Linked DNA regions of Homo sapiens: all the other regions are linked to region 5. Evidence: promoter capture Hi-C in 16 types of primary human blood cells and fetal thymus (Javierre and others, 2016). All regions are on one chromosome and are shown on one strand. Each heading gives the region's core, a stretch centred on a gene start or on the middle of the fragment in contact. The rest is flanking DNA. Distances are from core to core; before and after follow the strand shown. Region 1 holds the start of LOC107985833 (a long non-coding RNA gene). Region 2 has its middle 120 kb from the start of NABP1. Region 3 has its middle 180 kb from the start of NABP1. Region 4 overlaps MYO1B (myosin IB). Region 5 holds the start of TMEFF2 (transmembrane protein with EGF like and two follistatin like domains 2). Region 6 overlaps LOC107985833 (a long non-coding RNA gene).

Region 1 (3,672 bases), core at 792-3,291, 680 kb before region 5:
GCGACAGGGTGAGACTCACAAAAAAAAAAAAAAAAAAAAAAGAAAAGAAAAAAGAAAAAAACAAATTGTGTCTTTAAAAACTATACATTATTCCTCAGGACACACCCCTTGAAACACCTGGAAAGAAGCCTGGTTTCAGCATAAAAGGAACTCCAACACTGTTTATTTCACGTGTGAGATATGCGTATATTCAATGACCAAATAAAGGAAAAGTTATTATTTAGTAAGCTTTTTGGTAATAAACAGGAACTTTTAAATTTTATTCTGTCTTTTTAAAAGACCAATTATTTAAATTTAAGAGAAGAGTATTTGAAAGGCCTTCACTTTAAAATTTACATAAGTAAAATATATACCCAAATCTGACCAATATGATAGCCAGAGGAAAACAAAACCCAAAGGCCTGCCAGGCATGGTGGCTCATGCCTGTAATTCGAGCACTTTGGGAGGCCGAGGCGGGCGGATCACCTGAGGTCAGCAGTTTGAGACCAGCCTGGCCAACAAGGTGAAACCCCATCTCCACTAAAAATACAAAAATTAGTCTGGCGTGGTGGCACATGCCTGTAGTCCCAGCTACTTGGGAGGCTGAGGCAGGAGAATCGCTTGAACCTGGGAAGTGGAGGTTGCAGTGAGCCAAGATTGCACCACTGCTCTACAGCATGGGCGAGTGAGACTTCGTCTCAAAAAAAAAAAAAAAAAAAAAAAAAAAAAGGAAAAAACCCAAAACAAACAAACAAAAACAAAATCCGAAGGTCTTTTTGCTTTAATATCTCACTTGCCCTGACCTCAAATCCCCAACATAAAATCCCTTTCTATGATGCAAATCTTCTGTCAGAAGGTGTGGACATACTGCACTAGAGTCAATCAAGCTGGGCTGCCCACATCTGAATCATGGGGTGCTTACTGAAAAACGCAGATCCTTGGGCCCCACCCAGCTCTACCGAGTCAGGACCACTATGTCTGTGTGGCCTGAGATTTGCATTTTCAGCAGAGTCAGCACTCTAAAGTGCTAATATTATACCATGAAAAATTAGGAAGGGCTAATTTATGAGTTCCCTTATAGAGGCCCCTTCAGGAAGGAGACAAAGAAGAGTTTTATAACGGGAGGGTAGGGGTGGTGGCAGGGGGCGATGGGCCTCAGGGAGAGTTCAGAGATGGAAAGGGGATCAAACATGGAAAAGATAGAAGGTGGAAGCTCTTGAAGAAAACTTCAGCGACTTAACTCCTTTGTCCAAGGCTAGACAGCCACAGAACTTCCTGGGGTGATAGAGCTCTGTACCCCACATCCCCAGGCTTTGGTGTCTCATGACACTGAACAGAACCCCAGCTACTACCTACATTAATTAACAACTGTGAGCCTCAGTTTTCCCATATGAACTGGGTATAAAGTAGAGTTTTGATGAGGATTAAAAGTAACTCAACCAGGAAGATAATTTAACATGATGGTTAAGGGTGTGGTTTTGGAGTTGGGCTTCCAGGCTTCATGTCCCAGCTCCAGCATTTACTACTTGTGTGACCTTGGCAGGTTATTTAAACTGTTTGCACCTCAGTTTCCTCATCTATTTACTGATGCTAAAAAAATTAATATATAGCCCTTTTTTATATAATAAAAAAATTAATATATAGCTAAAAAAATTAATATATAGCAGTTGGGGGGAGTAGGGGTTAAATGAGAAAATACATGTTACAAATCTGTAACAGTACCTAGCATATAATGAGCAAGTCAATAAATGTTACCACCTCTCATCATTATTTCATATATAAAGCAGCTGGCACCTGGTGGGAATTTAATAAATGATAGCTATTATTAGTAGAAATAATCACTCCTGGCTTCAAGACAGGCCAAAACCCTATTACATAATCCTGGCTGAGTCCCCATGCCTTGTTCGTAGTCTGTCATAACAGTGCCATTGAGGTTATTTGGGATAACATGTGGTTAGGACAGTTATTGTGCAGTGGTATATGCACATATAACTGAGCAGAGAGGTTTCTGAATGTTTTATGAAGGTGTGTGGGTGGAGGGGTCGAGTGCCCTGGGGAAGCTGCAGGAGCCTCTCTCCCTCCTTCTGCTTGGAGAACCTGGCAGCTGTCGCAACAGCAACAGCAGAGAGATGGACCTTTTGGAAAGTAATGGACACACTAGAAAAATATTTGAAAATCCATGACCTGTACTTATTTGATTCAAAGCCTATCATAGGAAAAGCCTATCACATTCCCTCAGGAATCTGTTGTTGTTATTTGCCTGCTCACCACAGCAAAGACTACTTCTTTTTCAAGACTTGAAACAATTATAATATATGTATATTTTTTTCTGATGGGCACTGTGTTTTAAGCTCTCTGTTCTTAAAATTTACAAATTTGTATTTGCTGCCCAGTTCTTTATTCTTTGTTGCCACATAAATCCTGCAATCTTGGTAGAAAAATAAAGAATACAGGAGAGCTGTTTGACCTTTGCTCCTTGCTGGGCATTGGTGTCATTTATAGTTATTAGAGTGGGGACAGAACGGAACTCATTGATGACTGAGCGGGTGGGGAGAGAAGGAGGAATGGCAAGCGGGGAAGGGAAAGGAGAGGGAGGAGAACACAGATTACTACAAGAATCTCATGTTGTGCTTTCACTTTGGGCAAGTATAACACTAGTAGTCCTTTGTGGGAGCTCGAAAAGGCACATGGGGGAAATAAGTCTCTGGAATAAACAGTATGACCTTGGCTGCATGGCTCTACTAACTTGGTTTTGCAGAACTGAGATAAATGGATACTAGTGAATTTGCATCAATTCCATTTAAGGCTTTAAAAAGACATATGGATAACATTATTGGCTACAGACCCTTAAGAAAACTAAGGTAAGTTCCTCTCAAGGCTCAAGCTAAGTCTTGTAGCGGGTAAAAATAGAAAGCCTTAGGCTGAAAAGCTGAAGGTCTCTATGTTACCATTGCTGAACCATTGGTTTACTGGGCAGTAGGGCTGGGGATCAATCTAAAAACCTGTCAAGCATGGTTCTTTTTAAAAATAAAACAAGGCCAGGTGCGGTGGCTCACGCCTATAATCCCAGCACTTTGGGAGGCTGAGACAGGTGGATCACTTGAGGTTAGGAGTTCAAGGCCAGCCTGGCCAACATGGTGAAACCCCATCTCACCTAAAACTACGAAAACTAACCTGGCATGGTGGTGTGCGCCTGTAATCCCAGCTACTAGGGAGGCTGAGGCAGGAGAATTGCTTGAACCCAGGCGGTGGAGGTTGCAGTGAGCCAAGATCGCACCACTGCACTCCAGCCTGGGTGACAGAGTGAGACTCCATCTAAAAATAAAATAAAAATAAATAAATAAACACATAAGTAAAACAGACAGCCTGCTTGTTCTCATGGAATACATGACAACAGTAAGCAAACGTAAAAATGCACAGCATAAACCACAAAAATTTTAATTAATAAAAAATGTAGTAAGAGAGGAAGTAAGAAGACTTGCTGTCAGTGTAAATATTCTAAAAACAGTGCTTCTTTAGATCAGGCTAAAATTAATGTCACTACTAAAGTTTCAGACAACTTAGTAATTTGGGCTAAGAAATATTTATTGAGCACCTACTTTGTGCTGGATACTGTGCTATACCATGGGTATATAGTGATAAACAAGGAGATAGAGGCTGGCTTCAATGTAAGGACCTTACACTCTAGTGGGA
Region 2 (3,767 bases), core at 303-2,802, 640 kb before region 5:
GAACAGTTGACGAAGATGTTGCATTCCCATTGCATTCCTGGCAACAGCTCAGAGTTTGAGGTGTAACAGATGCTCAGTAAATGTTTTCTGAATAACATTGAACAGTGTTTCAGGTAATGGAAAGAGTTTGGTACAGCAAGAACATGGGAGGGTGTGAGAAATGGTGGTAAAATATTAGGCTTGAGCCCCGCTATTGTGCCTTGTTGGGAAAGTCCTCCAATATTTATCCATCGGAACTGAGGAGGTTAAAAAAGCCAGGTCTCCAGGGGAACTTAGGAGTCAACAGGACCCAGAGCAGGTGGGGAGTTAAACCGGATAAGGTTGGAGACAAAAACAAAATTTCAATCTATTGGGAACATTTAGGAAGAGTTCTTTCACCAGAGAGGGCAGGATTTAGTTTGTGGTGCTTTAGTGACAATAGGTAAGAAGGAAGGGAACACCCCGCCCAACTTCTTTGATTATAACACTGAGACATACTAGTCAACTATGAACTTACATTTGATCAGCAAAATCCAAGAATCAGAAAAAGCTTTCATCAGAGTACCCTCTCCTGCATCACTGCTGGTTCTCTAACCCAGTCCCCAGTTTATAGTAAATTCTTGAGAGAGAAAGACGAGCTATAAAACTGCAAAGGAAAACCAAGGCCAGGCTACTTTAGATGTGAGCTGTTTGCTAGTATATTGTGTCCCCAGCCAGCATAGGTTATACTACCAAAATAAAATGAAAAGGAAACAAATATTGTGGCTGCCATCTGTGTAATACGGAATTAAATGTCTTTCTGGCTCTACAGAAGGCACCACAAGCTAGATGTCTTCATGCTCGAATATCCCAGAGGCATTTTTTTTTTATTATTATTGGTTGGAACAGCAAGAAATAAAGACTAAGATACATTTAATATTTAACTCTAAATCTTTAGTCTCCCTCATTAGTCTGACTTGCCTGCAGCCATATTGCTGTAAATTAAACAACCTAAGCTGGTATGTTGCCAAAGCGTACATCCGGTGAAATGTTAACAGTTCTTGTTCTTATGCCTGATCAAGTTAAAAACAAGAAAGTAATCTGTTTGCTATCCAGGGAGGTCATTAGAAAGGATGGTTGAAAAAAAACAAAAGCAAAAACAAAAAACTGTCAACGTATTTTGGAAGTTGGAAACTGAAAACCGGCTCTACAGCTCTAAGCTGGTCTTTGTAGAAAGCGGCTAATGGAGCTAAATATGGAAACTACTTCTTTTGATGGGGACCTCGTTACAGAAGAGTTTCAGGAAAGCTGGTTTATAGTTCCCCTATCACAATGTTGCCAAATTATCAATGCCCGGAGGAATGAGAAAATGCCTTCTGACCAGTGGAAGCCGATAAAGTAATACTTTCATTTGGAATGCCACAGAAAAGATAGCAGAAGCTAGAGTTCTCAGCTGGATAACTCACTGTGCCAGGCGCGGTGGCTCACGCCTGTAATCCCAGCACTTTGGGAGGCTGAGGCAGGCGGATCACCTGAGGTCAGGAGTTCAAGACCAGCCTGGCTAACATAGTGAAATTTCATGTCTACTTAAAAAAAAAAAAAATTAGCCAGGAGTGGTGGCACATGCCTGTAGTCCTAGCTACCTGGGAGGCTGAGGCAGGAGAATCGCTTGAATCCGGGAGGCGGAGGTTGCAGTGAGCTGAGGTCGTGCCACTGCACTCCAGCCTGAGCAACAGAGTGAGACTCTTGTCTAAAACAAAACAAAAAACAAAAAAGATAGAGAATGCACTGAGCCAGAACACAGGAACTATCCTTCATGTGAGCAACTGGCCAGAATCTTTTTTTTTTTTTTAATGTGGAAATGTGGCTTGGTCCTCTCTTCAGATTTAACTCATTTGATCAATCTTATTGATCAAGAATGGACAGTTAGCTGTCATTCTCTTCCTTCCATACTAATGACAAAAAATAAGTCCTGATTCGACAAATTATTTGATCAGCACAAACTGTTTATTAACAAAGAACAGAGGACCACACGTTGTCTTTCTCCTGCTTTCCTGTGTCTGTAATAGAGTGGCGCGAAGACAAACACATTCCTGGATCTGTCAGCTTCACCTGACTTGACTCTGGAATTCTCAGTAAGCCTATCTGCTTAAACCACAGTCTCTCAGCCTCAGTTGCTTGTTTGAATCACGGGGAGCTCTGGAAGCTCCTTGTACTCCAGCCATACTCCACACCAGTTACAGCATTATCTTTGTTGGGGGCAGGTGTGACCCAGGTATCAGTATTTTTTAATGATGCCTAAATGATTCCAGTAAGCAGCCAAGTTTAAGAATTGCTGCATTCTCAATCTTGGTGACATATTAGATTCACTTGGGGACCCAGACCAAGCTAGTCAGAATCAGAATTTTTTTAGTCCCCCAGGTGACTCTCATATGCAACCGGGGCTGATAGTTTCTGCCTTTATATAGTGATTCTCAAAGTATGATCACAGAGCTTGCATTAGGGGTACTCACTTTCCTTATTAAATATTTGGTTTCCAGCTCCACCCCAGACCTATTGAATCAGAAATAGGACTTCACTTCGTTTTGCGAGCTCTGCAGGTGATCCACATCCTCTTTAAAGCTTGAAATCCACCACCTGAAACTTCCTCTATCTCTGCTTGAAGATTCCTCAACTTCCACAAAGAAAGATTTATTCTTTTTACCTGAGGAAGACGGAGTTTATATTTCTGTGAAAGTGCAAATACAATGGCATAACATGCAAAATACATTAGGTTTGAATATGATGAACCTGATCAAGAAGAAAAAGGAATCAACCAAACAAAACCAACCAAAACAAACAAAAACAAGACATTGGGTAAAAAGAACAAGGTGCAGAACAGCTGGTATAGCATGTGCCTTTTTTAAACCATAAAAAGGAATAGTTGTATGAATATTCTGGGTAGCTGCTAGGAAGACCTTTTATAATATGTGTCATACACACATAATTCTTCTATTCAAAAATAGAGTAATTAAAAATGCAAACATTACAGAGAGAAGTCATATTAAGCCTCATTAATGTTAAAAGATAAACTGAGGCACATTAGAATATTAAGGAGTTTATTTGAGCAAACGATTCATAAATCAGGTAGCATCAGACTTCAGGTGGCTCGAGGCTCCACCAAGAGGGCAAGAGAAGGCTTTAAAAGGGTTAATTGGTGGCTCCTGAGTTTTAAAGCTGAAGTTGCATTTTCCTAGAATATGACCATTGATACTTGGGTTTCGGTTTGCTTCTGTAGGAATCCAGGGCCCTGGAGCTGGCTCAGCCTAATGGCCTCTCCATTAATTATCTTAGTTACTTATACCTAGAGTGAATCATTTTATCAAAAAAAATTTTCTGAACAGCTTTTGATTTGAGGAAGAACAAGTAGAATAAATGTCCTGAGGACTAGGGAAGCCAAAGAACGTGTGGAGGAGAGGCACAGGAAAGAATCTCAGAGCCTTGAAGTCGGCATTTGCCAACTTTACATTTTTGTTCAAGGTCAGTCTTGACCTTGATTTACATTCCCAAAGATGGAAACAAACCAGTGTGTGTTCTTCACCTGTCACCGACACTCGTTTAGAAAATAATTGGGGTCGTCCCGGCGCAGTGGCTCGTGCCTGTAATCCCAGCACTTTGAGAGGCTGAGGCAAGAGGATCGCTTGAGCCTGGGAGTTCGAGACCAGCCTGGACAACATACTGAGATCCCTGTCTCTACTAAAAATACAAAAATTAGCCAGGCGTGGTGGCGCGTGCCTGTAATCCCAACTACTGGGGTGGCTGAGGCACGA
Region 3 (3,847 bases), core at 822-3,321, 700 kb before region 5:
ATTTCTTGGAAAGCCAGGAAACAGTCTTTTTAACCAGGAACAATGCAATTAGGGCAACTGCCTCTAGGGACAATGCGCAATGAAACCACAGGGCCATTATTGATGAAGCACGCCTATAATTACCACCTACCTTGCAGCAGCTATAATTCCAGATCCCCACCTGAGCTGATTCTGAGAACCAGATTCTTTCATCCCCGTGGATGCCAGGATATCAGCCATAGTGATCACATACACAATCCAAGTCTAACACCATTAAATCTAAGGTCATATGCCTCTAGCCTGGCTGCAATAGAATTTTTGAAACGTAACTTTTAGAGTTTTGAAAGTGGGGCCACATGCTTACCTCAGGACCAGTTACTGGCAAAGGCTGTGATTCGTTCTCAAGGGCTGATATTTTCCCTCCATCAAACCGAAATTTTCTGTCCGGGTGTGGTGGCTCATGCCTGTAATGCCAGCATTTTGGGAGGCAGAGGAGAGCAGATCACTTGAGGCCAGGAGTCTGAGACCAGCTGGCCAACATGGCAAAATCCCATGTCTACTAAAAATTAGCTAGGTATAGTGGTACATGCCTGTAGTCCCAGTTACTTGGGAGGCTGAGGCATGAGAATCGCTTGAACCCTGGAGGTGGAGGTTGCAGTGAGCCGAGATCACACCACTGCACTCCAGTCTGGGTGACAGAGTGAGACTTTCAAAAAAAAAAAAAAAAAAACCTGAAATTTTCTTAGTAAGAAAGGGATGAAGAGGAAGGTTATTGGATATGCAAACACTGTTTGTTAAATTCAAATAACTGAGTGCTAACAATGCCAGACACTGTTCTAGTTGCTTGGAATACTTCAGTAAACAAAATGAAAATTATTCTTGCCCTGGAGGGACTTATATTCCCATGGTGGGGGGACAGACATTATTGATGAAGCATATGGTATTGATACATGTCATGCTAGAATGTGATAAATGATTTGGAAAAGAGAAATATTAGAGCAGGGGATTGGAAGTGTAGGGGTTGGAGATGGAGGAAGAATCAAGTTATTAAGTAGGTGCTCAGGAGGGACTTCTTGAAATGTGAGATCTCAGCAAAGGCTTGAAGGAGGAAAGGAAGAGAGCCGCATGACTATGTGAGGAGCAGCTCTCCAGGCTCTCTTGAAGGCCCTACGGGAGGAGTGCCCTGGCATATGAAAGGGACAGTAAGGAGGTCACTGTAGCTAGAGAGGAGCAAATGAGGGGAGATAGGAGATGAGCTCAGGGAAGGAGTGAGGAGCAGGATTATGTGGGGCCTGTGGCTCTTTGAAGGACTCTAGTTTTTAAACTGAATGAAATGGAGAGTCACTGCAGGCTTTTGAGCAGGAGAGGAACATAATCTGAATGTTAACAGGATCACTCTGACTGCCGTGTTGCCAATAGATGGTTGGAGGCAAGGGAAGAAACAGGGGCACCTGTTAGGAAACAAATGCAGAGACAAAGATGATAAGACCAGGGAGAGAAAGTGGAGGGTGGCGAGCCGTGGTTGAGCTTTGCATGTGTTGTTAAGGCAGGGCCAGCAGATACGCTGAGGGGGAGGGATGTGAGCTGGGAAAGAAAGAGCACAGGTTTTTGTTGTGAACAACGGAAAGGGTGGGGCTGTCAACAACTGTCATCAACTGGGATGGGAAAGCTGTGGCTGGAACAGATTTGGGGGAGATGGTGACTAGAGTTCAATTTCGGAGAGGCAAGCTAAGAGGTATCTTATAGGCAGTTGGGTAAGCTTACTATTTGGGTGAAAAGTATGGGTTATAGATATAAATGATCTAGAAACAGTAGCAGCTGGTGCCAGCTTTTCTTTTAAATAAGAGGAGCATTTTTTTTTCTGCCTGGTACAAGGCCTCCAAACTAAGAAAATCATTTGATACTTTCCAAAAGCAACTGTGCTTTCAGACATTGAAACACATTTTTATTTTCTTGAGAGATCTAATCAAGATAAAATAACAAAGAATTGTTAACAGCATTAAAGATCCGTAATATATTTGTTCTTTATTCTTTGGTCTTCCATCTGAGTTTTGAGGGGAGGCAGGATGTTGTAGTATTAAGGGTGTGAGCTCTGGCATGAGACAGAGCAGGGTTTGAGTCCAGGTTCCACCGTGTAATAGCTGTGTGGCCTTGGCAAATTATTTAACTTCTATCAACTTCAAGGTCAGGAGTATTTATAGCACCTACCGTCATTAATGTTTTTTAAATACTATTTTTACCTAGCACCTATCAGTATGCCTGGCAATTCATTCATTCAGCAGATAATGATGCCTACCTATCATGTGCCAGGCATTGTGCTAGGTAATGAATATACAACTATAAATAACACAGACTATCCTTGGCCTTCTGGAAATTACCATTTAGGAAGCAAGCAATTTTTCAAAGAAGAAACTGGAATGTTCAGTAAGCTTGTGAGAACCTGCTCACTCTCACTGATGTTTGGGGGAGGGTGGATGCAAATTAAACTCACAGTGAGATATCACTTCACATCCATTAGCATGGGAAAAAAAGTAATAATTCCAAAGTTTGTTGAGGGCAATGGTGGAAACAAGAGGTCTTTTTCAGTGAAGGTAGGAATTCAAATTGTGCAACCACCTCAAAGATCAACTTGACAATATTAGTGAAGTGGAAAACACATGTCCTCTACAACCCAAAATTTCCACTGCAGGACTGTGCACCGGAGAAACTCTACACATGCACTCAGGGTGACATGCACAGGATATTCACAGCAGCACTTGTAGTGGTAGCAAAAAAGTGGAAGCAACCTAAATGTCCACCAGTGGGGGATTCAAACAACCGAATAATATTCAGAGGTTAAAAATGAATGAACTACATAGGTCAATGTGGAACAATTTCTAAAAATACAACAAAAAGTAAGTTGGAAAATATAATATTCTCTGTCTGATTAAAACATCACACAAAATAGTGTATTATTATACAGTAAAACATTAAAACATACAAGGAAAGGAGGAAAAAGATGAATACAACTGGAACAAGGAGGGAAGGTTTAGCTGCATCTGTGATGATTTATTTCTTAAAAAAAAGAAACAAACATGACAAAATGTGTCTATTAAATCCAAAGACTTACACAAGTGGCTGATATGTATTTTTCTGTATGATTAAAATATTTCATAACCAAACATTAAAAACTCCTTTTTTCTGTGGTAAAATATATATAATGTGAAATTTACTATTTTAACCATTTTAAGTGTACAGTTCAGTAGTATTAAAGCACATTCACATTGTTGTACACTATCACTATAATCCATCTCCAGAACTTCTTTCATCTTCCTAAACTAAATCTCTGTATCCATTAAGCACTATCTCCCTGATATGGTTTGGCTGTGTGTCCCCACCCAACTCTCATCTTGTAGCTCCCATAATTCTCACGTGTTGTGGGAGGGACCCGGTGGGGGATAATTAAATCACGAGGGCGGGTCTTCCCTGTGCTGTTCTCATGATAGTGAGTGAGTCTCATGAGATCTGATGGTTTTTAAAAGCGGAAGTTTCCCTGCATAAGCTCTCTTTGCCTGCTGTCTCCATGTAAGATGTGATGTGCTCCTCCTTGCCTTCCACCATGATTGTGAGGCCTCCCTGGCCATGTGGAGCTGTAAGTCCAATAAACCTCTTTCTTTTGTAAATTGCCCAGTCTCAGGTATGTCTTTATCAGCAGCGTGAAAATGGACTAATACATTCCCCATTCCTCCCTCTTTCCAGACCCTGGCAACAACCATTCTACTTTCTGTCTGTATGAATTCAACTACTCTGCATATCTTGAATAAGTGGAATCATACTATATTTGCCCTTTTGTGACTGTTTTATTCACTTAGCATAATATCCTCAAAGT
Region 4 (3,728 bases), core at 96-2,595, 780 kb before region 5:
TTATTCTTGTTGCTGATAAATTGTCTTAGCATATTTAAGAATGAGTAATAATTTATTTATATAAATGATGTTTTGTTTCTTTCTTCTCATATCTCACAGTGTAAAAAATACAGGGACCAATTCACAGACCAGCAGAAACTTATTTATGAAGAGAAACTAGAAGCCAGTGAACTCTTCAAAGACAAGAAGGCTTTATACCCATCTAGGTATTATGGCTTTGCTTTACCCATAAAATTCAGGATTATAAAAGTTTCTCAAGTATATTTGTACGCCGTTTTGCCTGGTGTTTGATTTCAGTCTTAGATGAGTGATTTTTAGTTCTGTGAATCATTTTATAATCAGCTTGATGTAAACACATTTATTTGAGCTATGGCTTCTATAGTGCAGTTTAATGAAATGAGGTTACGATTGTTGGTTTCACTCCATTAGCATTAGCTCAAACACTTTACTAAATAATTAGAAGTCATTTAACATAAAAATTATATAGGCTGTTAAGATACGTTTGCATTGTAAATTCCTGTTCCTTTTCCGTAGTTTTCAAAGACTAGCCAAATTTCTGTTGGCAATATACTTTAATCACCATTCCAGTCTTCCTGCCATAGCAAGCAAGGTCAGAAACTTATTTGTAAGGTAAATGAAAGAGCGAGCCAGGACAGTACTTTTTGAGTGTTGCTTGAGCACTGGTCTGTGGTGCCCTTTGGTCTGCTAACTCAACGGATATGACTTCTGTGGCCTGTACAGCACGTTCAGTTCCTTTATTTTAGACACCGTGGACTCAGAAAAAGAAGGAACACCAATCCCAAGTTCAGCAAGTGAAGTCCTTGGTAAAGACTGTTTATCCCAATAGTCTTACATCTCCTGCATTCATCACTTCCTCCCAGCAATCTAATCCCATTTTCATCTGGTGTTTATAAAAAAGTAGATTGTACAATTTCAAGCCAAATCTGTAACAACTTTAAGCTTCTTCCAATGAATGGCCAAAGAAAGAATGTATTATATGCTGAGTATATTCACATTTATTACGTAAATTATGTTTATATTCTCTGTGACTTTATACACATTTAAAATATCTTCCTTTTAAAGGATTAAAGGAATATACATTGCCAGACTCACTGGGTTTAAATATTTTAAATTGTACAACTTCATTGGTTAGCTGATGTGGCTACTTGAGGTGATACATACTCCCTTAAGTCAAACACAGTGTCTAAATCCAAAGTTGTCCAAAGTGCCTGTTATATAAAGCATATTCAAACAGGAGAATTTGTCTGTATGCTTGCTTCAGCAACTAATTTTATTCAGCTTTTTTTTTATACATTTTTAAATTAGGGAATAACCTTCTTAATGAACATTTCCTGTGGATGACTCTTCAGAAACTACAGGCTGGAAAATACATCTTTGAGGAAACAATTTAAAAGCCTGTTAGCATTTTTATAATTTAAAACACAGTTGAATAGGAACCAAAAAAAGTTAACTTCAAGCCAAGTCCTTTTTGGGTAGTCTTATCAGTTTTCAGGGATAGTGGCACACTCACCCCACAGCAGTGAGAGAGGTGGAATAATTTAGCCTCCCACCACCCTGCAAAGTGGCAGCTCTTATGGGAGTTGGCCTTTTATATCCTGAGAGCTGTGAAACGCTGACCACCTACGTGGATTTTTCTTCCCTTATCCTCCACCCACAACATAAGCATTTAAATTTGTATTTGCAAATTGCCAGAACTTTGTAGCTCAAAATGAAGCTTATAGATTCCTTGAAGCAGCAGTTTTTCCTTGGTGCCTTTGATGAACCTGTCCTGAAAGAGTCCCCCGACAAGTCTTTAGGGAAATTGATATCTTAGTGATAAGTGTACAGTTAACCTTTTACAAAAATTAGTTTGTTTGGGAAAAAAAAAATTGCCCTGATTCTGAATGTTTGCTTTGGTTACTTCTGTCCATTTAGAGGCATATTCTAGGAGAAGAGGCTTGATTCTCCTTTCATATACAGATGCTGCTTAACTTATGATGCAGTTACACACAGATAATCCATCATATGGGTTATGAGTGATTTCTATCTTGATTGTTCCATGTGATGAGATTATTATCAAAGTCCTGCCCACCAAATGCCATGATCACCTCAAAAATATATTTGAAATAGGTTTAAGGTTTCATTTCCAACTTATATTTAGGACAGATGCAAGCGTAATGTATAAAATAAATTGAAGTCAATTTTTATGAAGTTGTCATATGTCATATGAAGTTGAAAATATCATAAGTTGAAAATGCATTTAATACACCTAACCTACTGAACACAATCACTTAGCCTAGCCTACCTTAAACATGCTCAGCACACTTACATTAGCCTACAGTTGGGCAAAATCATCTAACACAAAGCCTGTTTTATAATAAAGTGTTGGATATCTCATGTGGTTTATTGACCACTGTACTGAAAGTGAAAAACAGAATGGTTTATGAGCACCACTGTAAAGCTGAAAAACCCTAAGTCAAACCAAGTCAGAGACCATCTGTATTGCCTACTTAGAACCACAGTTACATGTTAATATTAAGTGTTCTATAGTTTTCTTCTAAAGTGATTGCCCTGGATCTGTTCTTTCCCAGAAGGCCTATTGATTTTCTTATTCTCTGCAAGAAATGAAATTTTTCTTTAGAGCAGGTGATGGTAATGATTTCAGCTCTTTTCACTGCCACATATTGTTTGAAGGCGTTAGTAAATCCTTTGTGAGCAGCTGTTAACTTTATATTAACAGATTAGAAGAAATTGCCTTTTCCTTCACATGAGGCCATGTACTTGAGTCTTAGCTGTTGTTCTTATGAGTGATTTCTGTCTTGATTGTTCCGTGTGATAAGATTATTATCAAAGTCCTGCCCACCAAATGCCATGATCACCCCAAAAGTGTATTTGAAATAGGTTTAAGGTTTCATTTCCAACTTATATTTAGGACAGATGTAAGTGTAATATATAAAATAAATTGAAATCAATTTTTATGAAGTTGTCAGCTACTCCTTAGAATCAACTGACCTGTTTCCTTTTTTTAGTGGTACTTTCATTTGAAACTATTTCTAATGTGCAGGAATTTTTTTCCTTTAGTGTTGGGCAACCATTCCAAGGGGCTTACCTGGAAATCAACAAGAACCCCAAGTATAAGAAACTCAAAGATGCCATTGAAGAAAAGATCATCATTGCTGAAGTCGTGAACAAAATTAACCGTGCTAATGGGAAGGTAAAAATGCTAACCTTGAAGACTGATAAGAAGTACCTATTAGTTGGGATAGTCACCCTGTTTTCTGAATGTAAAAATTTGCATTTCATGTTCTCAGTAGAGTTAACTATGAAGGCGGCTATTTCCCCTTACCTTTAAGCTTAGGTGGAATTTTGCTTGTTCTCTGACATTTTTATGAAATAAAACATATTATTTATGTTCTTTACTGCGTTCTTGGTTTACATAGGTATGTTTGTTGAAGGATATTGGAATTTTTGCAAATAATGCCTTAAACTCATGGACCATTTTTGAGTATTTGTGATCATTGGTTTTATACTATTTTTTATTTTGATTTAGAGTACATCTCGGATTTTCCTCTTAACAAACAATAATCTCCTTCTTGCTGACCAAAAGTCTGGACAAATCAAGTCAGAGGTTCCATTGGTGGATGTGACCAAGGTATCAATGAGCTCACAAAATGATGGCTTCTTCGCCGTCCACCTCAAAGAGGTAAAGGTTCAACAGAAGATTTCTG
Region 5 (3,892 bases), core at 135-2,634:
CGGTTCCGCCCTCGGCTCGCCTACATGGAGCCTGACCAGCCTCAGTCATGCCCACTCCGGCCTGGGAGACCCGCAAAGTGTTCTTTTTCTCAACTCCCCTGTACTACCTTGAAGCTTAGGGAAGCAAAGAGAGGGGCATATCTGGACTGCAAAACCAATGTCTTTTGCCGCCTAGGAGAGAAGGGAATGAGAGAGAGAGAGAGATAGATAGATAGAGAGAGAGAGAGAGAGAGAGAGAGAGAGAGAGAGAGAGAGAGAGAAATTCTATTGAAACCCAGCTCCTCTAGAATCTGTGTGACCTGGTCTTCAACGGGAGACCAGTGCGACCTCATGGCACCTTTGCCAGGAATCAGCGATTCCCCTGCAGTCACCATTTGATTTATTGCTTTCTCGCTCATTCTTTCTCATAAAGTTATTTCTTCCTCATCCTAGTAAGACTTTTTTCTTTAATGATGACAAAGCTTCTGTTTCAGTGTTTCCCCTAGGATTGGTGCTCTTTCAAAACAGTGAACCCAGAAAACCATCCCGTTTAATATTTCTCAAAATCCTCGCAGCTCCAATGTAAGCGCAAGCATGCAAAGGTTTCCTGCTACACCTGCACTTTCTGCCCATCCCAGAACCACCCCTCACCCCCGGGCCTGCAACAGTTCCCCTTGTTTCTCTGGATAGAGGTGGGTGGTATTAGGGGTCTAGGGCAGTAGGAGGTGAGGGGCTGAGGAGGCGCGCTAGGGTAGGCTGGTCTGTGCTGGATACGCGTGTTCTTCTGCGGAGTTAAAGGGTCGGGGACGGGGGTTCTGGACTTACCAGAGCAATTCCAGCCGGTGGGCGTTTGGCAGTCACTTAAGGAGGTAGGGAAAGCAGCGAGCTTCACCGGGCGGGCTACGATGAGTAGCATGACGGGCAGCAGCAGCAGCCAGCAAAAGCCCTCGCAAAGTGTCCAGCTGCTGCACTGCCGCGGGGACTCCCACAGCACCATGACTAGTTCGTGCAACTCTGCAGCAGCAAACGGCTTCCGAGGAACACAGGATCGCGGGGGCCGGGCAGCGGGCTACTGAGCATCCCGCGGACGGCGGCAGCAGAGGCGGCGGCGGTGGCAGTGGCACCCGGCGGGGAAGCAGCAGCCAAACCCGCGCATGATCTCGAGAGTTTCAGCAACATCCAGGGACTGGGCTCAGCCCCGGAGCGAGAGGGTCGTCCGCTGAGAAGCTGCGCCGGAGACGCGGGAAGCTGCTGCCATAAGGAGGGAGCTCTGGGAAGCCGGAGGACAGGAGGAGACGGGAGTCCAGGGGCAGACGAGTGGAGCCCGAGGAGGCAGGGTGGAGGGAGAGTCAAGGCGCCCCGCAGCCCGGCAGCCGCCTCTCGAGCTCTGCCGCCCGCATCCCTCTGGCGTTTGGGAAGCAGCAGGTCCTCAGCCCGCCCGGGGTCACGTGGGAAGAGGCAGTCGGGCTCTGATTGGTGGAGCAGGATGCAGGTCCCGGGAGGGAGGGGTCGACGAGGAGGTGCAAGGATGCAAGGAGGAGGCGGCCGCGGAAGCCACAGATGGGCTCGCTCGCCAGGCGCTGGCCCGAGTGGGGCTAGGCGGGGATGGCTCAAATGAGAAGCTCGGGCTTCAGGGTGGGCTACCCGCACACTCATATACCATTCGCCTCACTCTCCGCTCCAGGACGCCCCCTACCGAAGGCGGGGTCCGGACTAGCGCCCCTCTTCCGCGCGTGACCCCGGGCCGCGAGTGCGGGCCGCGGCTGGGTGGCGTCTCTCCGAGCTGGAGATGGTGGGGGCGGAGGTGTCAGAGGAGCAGCAGCAGCAGGGCAGAGAGGGGCGAGTCGGCGCGGGAGAGGGCGTCCTGCTGGCGACCGGCGCTCCAGCGTGCGGGAGCGCGCCGCCTAGGCTGTAGGGGGATGCAGGCTGGGAATGTCGCGGCGGAGAGGCCAGGGACGTTTCTCTAGGGATTTACAGGAAAGAGGGTGAGAGGCGATGGTGTTAGAACCGCTCTTGCCGACCTGGAAGCAACAGCAGCATCTCCCACAAGAGCGTGCAACCCCAAGGCTGCTCGCCGAGGCAGCTCAGCCATCCCGGCAGGCGCTCTCCTTCCTTCTCTCTTCTCCCCTCTCTCCTCCCAGGCCCCCCGCAGCTCCGACCCAGCCCAAGCGTTCGCAGGTTTGAATCCCTCTCCTCATCACCCGCTCCTCTCCAGCCCGTAGCCTATTAGTGTGTCCACCTGGGAGGTGCGGTCAGATGTGTTTGGAAGGTCAGATTGGTCGGGACAAGTGGTCTGAGAGAAAGAGAAAGGCTCCTCTGCATACGCCGCGGGTGGGTTGCCGGGAGCATCGGCCGGGCAGCGGCGTCCGGGAAGGGGAGAGCGGGCTCCATTTGTTGGCCCAGGCAGTGACCCTGCGTTCCTTACTCGGGTCTTTGCCGGATGGCCGGTGACCTGGGGCGACGAGAGAAGGTCTAACTCGGCAGGAGTCTCTGGCTCTGCGCGTTTCTTTCATTCTCTCCAGCGGGAAGGGCAAACGGCATAGCGGGACCCGCCTTCCGTCTGCTGCATTCTTCAGGCAGTTAGACACACTCTTTAGCCTAATGGAATTTTAGTCGCCAGTAACGGGACCAAGAGCTTTCGGGGACAAGGGTGGAGAGGAACATCTTTCTTCCATGACCGGGGTCACTATTGCAGTCTCAGTGTTTTGGATGCCCCATAGGGAAGAGCTTTCTTTTTGGTGTGTGATTATTCAGTGATTCCTGTTTTTGTTTTTGTTTATCTTCTCTCCGCTCTCCTTCTCTATTCCTCTCTGTTATCCCTCCTCCTTCTTCTCCCCCCGCTTTCAAAAGCCTCCGGATCCTCCCTTTTTCTATTTAAATTCTCCTTTTGTGCCCCTCTTTCTGTGTCCCCTGAATTTAGGAGAGCATTTGATAACATTTAACAGGCAATTAGTGTCCATTCCCAATCACTTAAAAGAGGCATTCATATACTTTGAAAACGGGACTATCTATCCTTTGCAGACACCAGCAGAAAAACAAATTGTACCCGAGTAATCCTTTTAAGTACTTTAACCTCCAACCTCCTCCCACTTCCTTGCTTTTTAACTTCTCCTTTGAGAGATGTGATCGTGCAGCACCTCAGTGCCTCAACGAAATCTTTTTTTTTTTCCTGTGTGAAATCCATCCCTTTATCTTACATCTCCGCCTCCGTCCGAGACTGTCCCTCTCCCCTCCCACCTCCAAAGATTTCTGAATCTCAGTGTCTCTCACTCCTGGCAATTAAGCAGCAGATCCCAGCATTCTAGTCGGTGGCATCTCGCTCCTCACCGACGAAGACTCCATTAAAACAGATCAATTAGACCAGACGTTGGAGGCATCAGAAAATCGGCTTCTAGACAGAGCAGCTAAATTCTTTAAGGAAACAGAATACCCATTAGATAGAGCTGCCAACTAATATTGCAAAACAAGGAATTAGAAATTTCTTTCGCTACAGGCTTTCAGCAGAGAAGGCAACATAAATATAGATCAAGATTTAACAACTCTACAGCAGAGAATGAGAACATGTCATTTTCCATAGCAAGGCTGGTGTGGTAACTAATCAGGCTTATGAAAATAAGTCATGCTTGAAACTAAAGGCAAAGTCCTTAAAAGTGTTTATGCAGTAATTATGATAATGAAACAGGACCTGCTAGGATTTCAGAGTTTGGCTATGTAAGTAGAATTTTAGAGAACCTCTTAGCAGAGGAAAACTGTTTTTGAATTTTCTGCTAAGTAAATTTTTGGCATACTTTCTAATAATATATGCTCTTCCTAAGACGTTTTGCCAAAAGTAAGTTAAAACTCCAAAGGAGTTAATTACTGGTTGTAACTGGTTAACAAATGCGGTTGCTTCCACAGAGGTCCTTTAAATTAT
Region 6 (3,844 bases), core at 1,180-3,679, 660 kb before region 5:
AAGCTCTGTCAGGAAGATGGATTTGGCTTACCCAAATGCCACATTCTGCTTCGGCTGTAGCTTCCTCATGTGTAAAATACACATAAATTACTTTCCTACTTCAGAGATGTCAGGTGAAATGCAACAGAATAGGTGCTCTTAGGAAAACAAGATGATTTAGAAATTAAGGAACTTCTGTGTAAGCTCTGTGAGTGTTCGACTATGTCTGTCTAGCCCCCAACCTTAGTACAGGGCCCTGGATATAGTAGGTGCTCCATAAATATTTGTGACATGAATGATTGATTGCTGTAGTAGGCTTTGATTTCTTTCATTGCCCTCATGTATTAGTTAAGGTACTGCTAGCTGTTTCAATAGTAACCCCTGCAATCTCGATGACATAATACAAATGAAATCTGTTTCTTGCTTATAGACAGTCCACCTGTGGGAGGAAGGCAGATGGAAGAGGAAATCAATGAGGGTCCTAGGCTGACAGAGACTCTGCCATCTTCAGCAGATGGCTTCCAATATGACCATGAGTGGGCATCAGTGTCAGGTGTCTGAAGCAGAAAGCGAGAGCATGGAGAATTCCACAGATGATATACAGAAGATTGCATAGAGGCCTGGAGAGAGGGTGCACCCTTCCCCTCACATTCCACTGGGAAGAATTCAGTCACTTCGCTTCAACCTACCGCAAGGGAGGCTGGGAAATGAGGGCTCTGGCTGGTTAGCTGCTGCCCAGGGACATCTTTACAACATGGAAGGGCAGCATATGGGTGGCAGCTGGCCTTCTCTGCTGCTCTAGAATACAGAACCTAACGAGAGAAAGAGAGAAAGAGAGAGAGAGAGAGAAGGAAGAGAGAGAGAGAGAGAGAGAGAAGAGGAAAGGGATGGATGATCCAAGGCAGAAATTATGTGGCATGTGATGAGAGAGGAACAAGGACAAAAAGAGTGTCCAGGACATCAGTTAGAGAGATGAATGGAAGCACAATAAGGATGCAAGTAAAAATAGAAGCAATTAATGTGAGAAATGTCCTTTGATCCTTTTGTACAAAAACAAAGCAGCATGCTTCAAACCTCCCTCTGTGTATGTCTTGCCTAAATTTTTCTCCTCGGACTCAACCTTCCATTCATTTTCTATGCTTCACTCTGCCAGAGAGACTATGAAAGCCTTTCAAAAGTAGTTTTCAGTCCTGACTTTGAGTAAGAATGCTACGCAATACTAAATCTTCAACACTCTACTTATTCCAGTTTTCCCTTAATGATGTTACCCTGAGGAACTTTATGGCTAGGAAAAAAAATTACAAGTGTCACATACTTTTTTTTTTTGAGACAGAGTTTCATTCTGTTGCCCAGGCTGGAGTGCAATGGCGCGATCTTGGCTCACTGCAGCCTCTGCCTCCCAGGTTCAAGCAATTCTCCTGCCTCAGCCTCCCAAGTAGCTGGGATTACAGGCATGTGCCACCACGCCCGGCTGATTTTTGTATTTTTAGTAGAGATGGGGTTTGACCATGTTGGTCAGGCTGGTCTCGAACTCCTGACCTCAAGTGATCTGCCCACCTTGGCCTACTAAAGTGCTGGGATTACAGGCATGAGCCACCACACCTGGCCCAAGTATCACATAATTTTTTTTTAAAACAAAAACAAAAACAAAAAAACAGCTTGTCATCCATTAGCTATATATATATTCAAATGCTGATTAAATTGCTGATGTATTTTTTTTTGGTTAAGTGTTATTCTGTCAGTGACCCAAGAGTCTCAGAAATAAAGTGAATTTCTAAAGAGAGAGTCCTCACACCCAGAATGAAGGCGGAAGGCTACTTCTGGAAATAAAATTGTGCAGATGTAGTTGCAAGTGAGTCAGCCTCAGTGAGAAACAAATTGTTTGAACAATAGACTTAATTAACTTGTGTTTATGTCTTCCATCATGGCAGGTGTAAAGTCCCAGGGCACCTGCGGATACACCTGAGCTAGAGCCTAGAGTTGCTTCTAGAAGAGAGTGAAAAATGACTGAAGCGTTAAATAAGACCATGATGGTATGGTAGCTCTCCCCTGCTGCCTGCGGGTAAGGCTCCAAAGGGAAGAGAAATATAGGACTGAGTTCCTGGAGCTTTGTCTACTATATTTCTTTTAACTTGAAAAGAGCATTTAGCACTAACAGAAGTGCAGTTTGGGTTGGCTTATAACGAGGATCCTCTCTATTGGGGGATGTATGCTGCTTCTAAATAAGAAAGAGGAGTGTCAGGAAGGTGAGTCTAACTGGCAAGAACAGGGGTCCAAATCAAATCAATCCCTTTCTCACATCTAACCTGATGGAGAGAAATCCCTTGCTTGTACAATGATGCATATTTGGGGAAATGCTTGAGGTGCTTCATCTCAGGTTTAGTTCTCTATAAAAAGAATTAAATGTTTCTCTTTTTGGAAATATTTCTGTCGTAATTTGGGCCTGCCTTCATTAAATGCTCTTTTTCTTAGACTTTTTTTTTTTTAGTGTTTATTGTAATGTGTATTAAATATGGCAATAAAATGCCTGGAGATAAACAGTACAGAGCATAAACATAACTTCTTGTCTAGTTGTGTGTTCAAGGTTGGCTTCATCCACTAATGATTGGGTTATGAAACTCACTTGGGTTTTTTTACTATTTAAAAAACTCAATCTACTTATTATTCATCTTACTGATGAGGCCAACTGCATTCAGTGTCAATGATGCAATACTCACTTGGTAGAGAAATAGCTTCCTTCCTGAATTCTTATTTTTGGTCTGAAAGTTTGCTGCCAATTTATAACATAGTTTTAGAGAGAAAAATATAATTGATAGGTAGAACTCTTTGAAGATTCAGGTGAATCCAAGGTGAAGAGAATAATTGAACATATTGTAGCTGTATTACTTTTATTTAAGACTGATTAAAATGCTGATATAGAATGTGTGTGTATTTTTGTACATAATTTATTCATTTCTCAATATCTCATCAACAATTATGGAGCACTTTCTCTATGACCAGCATGCTGGGGGCTGGCAGTACAAGGAGAATAAGATGGCCACAAGGAGGTGGGAGTAGAAGGAGATCTGATCTGGTAAGATGATCAGTTCGATCATTTTTGGAATATATTCACTAAATGTGACCTTGGGAAGAGATTTCATGAAGTTCTCTTACATTGTTGCAGGTTACTGTTGGCTTTTATACATTGAGCCTTTTAGCTGTTACAGCATATATGACACGTATACAAACTCATTCAGTCGAATTCCTCAAACTGCTATTGAACTACCTTTGTGCTAGAAGCAGTGATACGATGTGAAAGAACACTTGGTCTTCTTCAGGAGTTGCTTGAGGCAGAGAGTCATGCAAACGATAAGTTATATGGAAATAGCTTAAGCACCAAGCATGAAGGAAGCATAGATGAAGTCAGGTGATCTGTGCTGCCTGGAGAGAGCTCTTGAGATGAGGGGCCATTTGAAGTGAGCTTTAAACGTTGAGTGTGAGCAAAGAAGAGAGAAATGGGCAAGCCAGGTAGAGGGAACAGCAAAAAGGAAAGAACCTGAGGCAAGAAAAGGCATGGACCATTTAGAAAACAGTGGGAGACTCTGTGTGGCCAGATCAATGAATTCGTGGCAGTTAATGGTTGGGCATGAGGGCAGAGAAGCCAACTGGGAACAGTGTGGGCATGCCACTTTGAGGAATATTCCAGAGGATTTTAAGCAGGGAAATGAAGTTCTTATGTGTGGGAGGAAAAGTATGGTGGTAAGTGGGCTGTACATTGTGGAGGGGAGAGACTGAGGATAGCAAGGTTTTCTAGCCCTTTATAAAAGAGGTGCTGGGAGCCTAGACTGCAGAATTGGAATGAAGAACCAAGTTGCTACAGATAAGG

What was found. The method cuts DNA at HindIII sites, captures the fragments that hold promoters and counts their contacts. A CHiCAGO score of 5 or more calls a contact.
Region 1: a contact is called between a fragment that was not itself captured here and the fragment with the promoter of TMEFF2 in region 5, in 3 of 17 cell types (neutrophils, total CD4 T cells and activated CD4 T cells). The highest score is 9.5, in neutrophils.
Region 2: a fragment that was not itself captured here is called in contact with the fragment with the promoter of TMEFF2 in region 5 in 14 of 17 cell types (total CD8 T cells, megakaryocytes, neutrophils and 11 more); the score reaches 10.7 in total CD8 T cells.
Region 3: a fragment that was not itself captured here is called in contact with the fragment with the promoter of TMEFF2 in region 5 in 4 of 17 cell types (activated CD4 T cells, neutrophils, non-activated CD4 T cells and 1 more); the score reaches 6.9 in activated CD4 T cells.
Region 4: a fragment that was not itself captured here is called in contact with the fragment with the promoter of TMEFF2 in region 5 in 2 of 17 cell types (neutrophils and activated CD4 T cells); the score reaches 6.4 in neutrophils.
Region 6: a contact is called between a fragment that was not itself captured here and the fragment with the promoter of TMEFF2 in region 5, in 3 of 17 cell types (neutrophils, naive CD4 T cells and non-activated CD4 T cells). The highest score is 9.8, in neutrophils.

The regions. Positions count from the first base shown.
Region 1 is chr2:191,513,824-191,517,495 of GRCh38, forward strand. LOC107985833 (a long non-coding RNA gene) reads left to right here and starts at 2,769. Exons shown (of 3, transcript XR_001739229.1): 1 at 2,769-2,840. The HindIII fragment of the contact is 3,630 bases long and covers 227-3,672 here.
Region 2 is chr2:191,551,268-191,555,034 of GRCh38, forward strand. No RefSeq gene overlaps it. Among named protein-coding and RNA genes, the nearest start is that of NABP1, 120 kb to the right of the region's middle. The HindIII fragment of the contact is 2,051 bases long and covers 528-2,578 here.
Region 3 is chr2:191,495,888-191,499,734 of GRCh38, forward strand. No RefSeq gene overlaps it. Among named protein-coding and RNA genes, the nearest start is that of NABP1, 180 kb to the right of the region's middle. The HindIII fragment of the contact is 670 bases long and covers 1,737-2,406 here.
Region 4 is chr2:191,410,967-191,414,694 of GRCh38, forward strand. MYO1B (myosin IB) reads left to right here. Exons shown (of 31, transcript NM_001130158.3): 27 at 100-206; 28 at 3,082-3,214; 29 at 3,551-3,703. Among named protein-coding and RNA genes, the nearest start is that of MYO1B-AS1, 170 kb to the left of the region's middle. The HindIII fragment of the contact is 775 bases long and covers 959-1,733 here.
Region 5 is chr2:192,193,549-192,197,440 of GRCh38, forward strand. It overlaps TMEFF2 (transmembrane protein with EGF like and two follistatin like domains 2), which reads right to left and starts at 1,385. Exons shown (of 10, transcript NM_016192.4): 1 at 805-1,385. The coding sequence starts at 976. RefSeq lists an enhancer at 1,331-1,906. The HindIII fragment of the contact is 4,792 bases long and covers 460-3,892 here.
Region 6 is chr2:191,531,308-191,535,151 of GRCh38, forward strand. The region is part of intron 2 of LOC107985833 (a long non-coding RNA gene); the gene reads left to right. Among named protein-coding and RNA genes, the nearest start is that of NABP1, 140 kb to the right of the region's middle. The HindIII fragment of the contact is 5,493 bases long and covers 1-3,844 here.